2 separate regions of the Homo sapiens genome follow, and region 1 is linked to region 2. The links are contacts of gene promoters, found by promoter capture Hi-C in blood cells and fetal thymus (Javierre and others, 2016). All regions are on one chromosome and are shown on one strand. Each heading gives the region's core, a stretch centred on a gene start or on the middle of the fragment in contact. The rest is flanking DNA. Distances are from core to core; before and after follow the strand shown.

Region 1 (2,700 bases), core at 201-2,700, 5.3 Mb before region 2:
GCATTAGAAAAGAGTAAAGTAAAAAATGAGAACGAAATAATATAGCCAATTATGAGTAGTTTGAAATTGGGTTTAGATTTTTATATGGACATATAACTGATTTTAAATTGTATATCAATATTATTATACTTTCTGATAGTAAATAGTTTTCGGTTTATGTGATGGAAGTAACCATAACGGTGTTGAAAATTGGCCCTCGAGGAGCAGCATATTCCACAGAAAGCCTCATAGTTCCAAATGCTCCAGGCTTGAGAGCCCCACCCTGAATGCCACCTGTTGCTCTTACTTGGTCTTTCCTTCTCAGTGCTGTTCTGAGGGACTGCTTTGCTCACATCAGCTCATAATGAATACCCTGTCTCCAGAAAATTGTAAAGCACCAGCCACAACTCCCACCAACGAGGAGGTAGTTTTTTCCACCTCTTGCCCACAGTATACCTCAACCGAAAAATAATAGCCCATTCCTAATGAGAAGGCGCACATATATACTTCTCCCACAGCGTTTCATTGTGTCTTAACTACCCTGTCAAGAAGTGTGCCCCCATGCTGAGTTGCAGATTCCATGCCATCCGTGGTATTCACTCTTTGGGGAACATGAGATATAAGTCGTCTTTTCCACATACCAGCCCTCTAAGCTTAGGAAGACAGTGGACTTTGACCCCTTATCACATCTCCAATTTTCATGTGACTTCTGTGATACAGATGATACGTACTTAGGAAAAATTCAGTTTAGCTCTAAGAATAACAATTAGGAAAATTAATCTGCGTGAAACAAAACAAATACCCTTTAATTTATTCCAGATAAACAAATGATTTATATCTGCTGTTTGGATTACTTCTTCTTCCCTTAACTAATATAAATAATCACGGGAGAGTATAATGGAAAAATGGTTTGCCCCTTATGATGTTTAGCCCTGTAATTTAAAGGTGATAGAGGCAGTATCATTTTTATGGATGTTATGCCTTCTATTCAAATATTCATTTGAAAAACAGTTATGTAGCCATTTTTATAAGTCAAGAAAGTATCTGGGAGAGGGAGCTTTCAGATGAAAGTAGTAGTGCGGAGGAGTGAAACTCATTTCTGACTTTCTAAGCAATTAGATATAGGAGGTTCTGGAACAGAATAGGAACATACTCCCTCCCTTTGTTCTTAGTTTCGTACTCTTGCTATGTGGCCATTGACCAAGTAGTCAGTAAAGCCAGAATAGAAGATTGCTGAAACCCGGCTGATTGAGTCAATCAATTTGTTCGTTGAACAGTACGAGACAGCCCTTGACGGTGAAAACAGCAGCGGCCTGCAGCAGCTGGCCTACCACACTGTGAATCGTCGCTATCGGGAGTTCTTGAATCTGCAGACCCGTCTGGAGGAGAAACCAGATCTACGAAAGTTCATCAAAAGTCAGGAGTTTCCCCAACCCCTACTGCCCGCTTGCTTCCCACGTCGAGCCACGCTGATTGGCCTGTTGGTTTATGGGAGGGATCGGGGAGGAGAATGCCGTTTCAAGGTTCTCTGCTCCCTGGATTTGCTTCAGGAGTTTTGAAGTTTAGTGCTGGACAGCAGCAATCACATTCTTTCAGAGGTAGTCCTTTACTGCCAACTGCTTTGTTCTGGAGCCCCATCTAGTTTAAGATTAAAAAATAAGTGTTCACATTTCCACCTGTGCCTGTAAGTTGGTGTGAGGAGTTAAATTAACTTTTCCAGATTCATAGATTGGTGGTTCTTAAATATTAAAATATTACACAGAAGTTGTTGCCACCTTCTTTCCTTAACACCCAGATCTTTTGTGTGCTGTTATGACAACTCTCAGGCATGGGGAACCTTTTTTTTTTTTTTTTGACATGGAGTCTCGCTCTGTCCCCCATGCTGGAGTGCAATGGTGCAATCTCGGCTCACTGCAACCTCCGCCTCCCAGGTTCAGGCGATTCTCCTGCCTCAGCCTCCAGAGTAGCTAGGATTACAGGCGCCCGCCACCACGCCTGGCTAATTTTTGTATTTTTAGTAGAGATGGGGTTTCACCATGTTGGTCAGGCTGGTCTTGAACTCCTGACCTCAAGCAATCTACCCACCTCGGCCTCCTAAAGTGCTGGGATTACAGATGTGAGCTACTACGCCCAGCCAAATATTTTTTAATGTAATAAAATTTCACTCTTAAGGATTAGTAACTGGTTACTTTGTTTTTTAAAAATGATTACCCAAATAGTTGAATAAGTTTGGGCATAAATTATGTATTTTCTTTCTTAACACAATAGCTAATACTGAGCCAAGCTTGAAAATATGCGCCAGGTTCTCTCCTAAGCACTTTACACGTATTAGCTCTTTTAATGCTCCCGTCAGCCTGTGAGATAGGTGCCCTCATTATCCTCATCTTGTAGAAGAGAAACAGAGTCAGAAAGATAACACAAATGGCCTAAGATCATCATTATAGTAGGGATTGAGCCCAGATTTAAACTTGGGTCTCTGGACTTCAGAGCCCTCTCTTGTAACAATTTAGTGTTATATGGATCATATGGATCGTATGTATATTTGGAAGTCCTGAAATTGTTTTTTTTAATCCAAGGAAATATATTCAATAGTTCTGTTTTCTTTATATGTTTTATATGGAATAGCTCTCTGTGAATGTTAAATGAGTGAATATTTTGATTTTTTTTTTTTTTGGAAGATGTGAAGGGTCCTAAAAAGCTCTTTCCAGATCTTCCATTGGG
Region 2 (2,700 bases), core at 47-2,546:
TTCCGGCGAACGACTGGGGAAGGAGGAGGGAGAGGTGGGGGTCTGGGGAAGAGAGGAAGAGGATATAGGGAGCGGTATGGGGCAGAAAACGCCTGCGGCAGCGCCTCCTCCCAATTGCTCAATTCCAATTCCCATCCCCATCCACAGCCCCACCCGTCCCAAAGGCCGGGGCGGGGCCAAACTGCCCCCAGAGGCGAAAGGAAGGGCTGGGACTCTTCCTTGGGGTTCTTAGCTAGCAGCGGGTTAGTCCCTCCTGCCCCCGCCCCCACAACGGGAACCTCCTGGTACCATTCCTCCACCCTCCGAAACCGCCCCTCCGCAGGAGTCTCTCCAATCCCCTGCGCTAGTCAATGCTAACTTTCTCCCACCATGCCCTCCCTCACTAATCTAGACCCCGAACTCCTTCTTTAGAAACCTTCCCTACTCTACCGGCCGCCCTTCCTCACCGGACTGTCCTTTGCCCACCACTGCAGGAATCCAAATGCAGCGCTTTTCCCGCCAAAACTTGAGGGCGTCACGCTGCCGCAAACTCGCGCACCCGCGCCGTAAAGCAAGACAGCGCGCGTTCCCGTGTCCTGCCCCTCTGAATGTCGGCGGCTCCAAAAGGGTGACGTGGAGATGTTGCCGCTCCCGCCCAGGGCTGCTTTGCAGTCGGGGAGAGATCCTGGCTGAAGAGATTTAAGGACGGCGGACCGCATCGGCGCGAATTGAGCTCTGGGCCCAAATATGAAGTGGCATCCGGTGTGAGGCTCGACTGGGCGGTGCTCGAGCGCTGCTGGGGGAAGCCCAGGCCTCCAAGCCTCAGGGGCGCGCGACCGACCGCGCTGCGCTTCCAGGCGGGGCTGCGGGCTTCGCTCCTGGCCGCTCTGGGCCTGAAAGGCTGCACCGCCACCTGCGTGAGGCCACCGGACAGGACTGTGAGGATCACAGTCGGTGAAGCAGAGTGCTTTGTAAACCTCAGAGTGCGGTACTCGTGGTGCTGGAGCCGAGAAACCAGCAGCAGCTGCTGAGAGCCGACTGTGAAGAAATGGGAGGAACTCCGTGTTGGGAGCGAGAGGCTTCGAAAGAACTGGCCACGCAGTCAAGTGTGTGTGGCGGGGCAAGTTTCCCGGAGAAAGCGAGCAGTTTATGTTGGAGCTTGAAGTCAGGATAACCAGTTTTGCCTTTTTTCTGTGAACCAGCTCCAAAACAATGCTTTACTTCAGCCCGGTCTTTTTGCAGGAAGACCATCTGCTTAGCTTAGTTCTACAAACTTTTTCATTTTTAATGTGCAAAGAACAGGCGGGGAGAGCCAAAATAAATCTTACAACGCAAATTTAAAAGCTGCGTACGTCATTTAAGTGGAAAAGTAAATTCTGAGGAAAGAGACTCAAGAACAAAATAGGAAAAATGGAAATAAGTATTCTCTGACAGTAAACTAGACTGGAACTCAGGGATAGGCAGGATCATCTCCATTACATTCTCCAGCACTGGCCGGGCGCAGTGGCTCCTGCCTGTAATTCCAGCACTTTGGGAAGGCGAGGCAGGAGAATGGCTTGAGGCCAGGAGTTCAGGACCAGCCTGGGGAACATAGGGAGACCCCATCTCTACAAATAAAAAAATTTAGGAATTAGTCGGGCTTGGTGGTGTGTCCCTGTAGCCCTAGCTACTTGGGAGGCCTAAGCAGAACAATCGTTTGAGTCCAGGAGTTAGAGGTTAGTGAGCACTACTGCACTCCAGCCTGGGCAACAGCATGATTCCGTAGGAAAAAAACATATTTTTTTATATGTATATATTTTATATATATACATATATATTTTCTTAGTCCTTAAGACTGGGCCACATACAAACACTAAGCATAACTGGCTATTATGATAATAGTAAAGTGAAACAAGTATAAAATGTTACTCAAGGCCGGGGCCTGGTGGCTCACACGTGTAATCCCAACACTTTGGGAAGCTGAGGCGTATGGATCACCTGAGGTCAGCAGTTCAAGACCAGCCTGGCCAACATGGTGAAACCCCCGTCTCTACTAAAAATACAAAAATTAGCCGGGCACGATGGCGAGTGCCTGTAATCCCAGCTACCCAGGAGGCAGAGGCTGCAGTGAGCAGAGATTGTGCCACTGCACTCCAGCCTGGGCAACAGAGCAAGACTCCGTCTCAAAAACAAACAACCAACAACAAAAACACACATTTCTTTTAAAGAAGCAAAGTCAGGAACAAAAATCAAGGAAAAAACTCTTAAAATGCTTATGTGTATAGTTTTGAATCATGACATCACAGATTAGGCTTCATGTAATCTTTTTACAGTTTGTTGTTTTTGGAGACAGGGTGTGTTGCTCTGTCACCCAGGCTGGAGTGCAATTGGGCAGTCTTAGCTCACTGCAGCCTGGAACTCCTGAGCTCAAGTGATCCTCCTACCTCAGCATCCCAAGTCACTGGGATTACAGAAGCGAGCCACAGGGCCTGGTATAAAAATAAAAGCAAGTTTTTATATCATTTATCCCATTTTCTCTTGTTTCCTCACTGTGTGCTGAAAACAAAGAATACGAAGAGGAAGACCTGCAAATTTCCTGTGTGTCTGATGGAGTCTTTTTAGCCTGAAAAAAAAAAAAAAAAAGATATACAGACTCCAGCAGAATACCAGTTAAAGACAGAATACATAGAAATAGCCTCTATTCTCTTCTGAAAGCCCACTAAAATATTTTAATAGTAAAGG

What was found. The method cuts DNA at HindIII sites, captures the fragments that hold promoters and counts their contacts. A CHiCAGO score of 5 or more calls a contact.
Region 1: a contact is called between a fragment that was not itself captured here and the fragment with the promoter of CHEK1 in region 2, in 1 of 17 cell types (fetal thymus). The highest score is 5.3, in fetal thymus.

The regions. Positions count from the first base shown.
Region 1 is chr11:130,910,328-130,913,027 of GRCh38, reverse strand. It overlaps SNX19 (sorting nexin 19), which reads left to right. Exons shown (of 11, transcript NM_014758.3): 2 at 1,257-1,395; 3 at 2,658-2,700. Among named protein-coding and RNA genes, the nearest start is that of SNX19, 4.8 kb to the left of the region's middle. The HindIII fragment of the contact is 1,631 bases long and covers 635-2,265 here.
Region 2 is chr11:125,623,759-125,626,458 of GRCh38, reverse strand. It overlaps CHEK1 (checkpoint kinase 1), which reads right to left and starts at 1,296. Exons shown (of 13, transcript NM_001114122.3): 1 at 447-1,296. It overlaps LOC118567325 (a long non-coding RNA gene), which reads left to right and starts at 565. Exons shown (of 1, transcript NR_170378.1): 1 at 565-1,322. RefSeq lists an enhancer at 621-1,130. The HindIII fragment of the contact is 3,445 bases long and covers 1-2,700 here.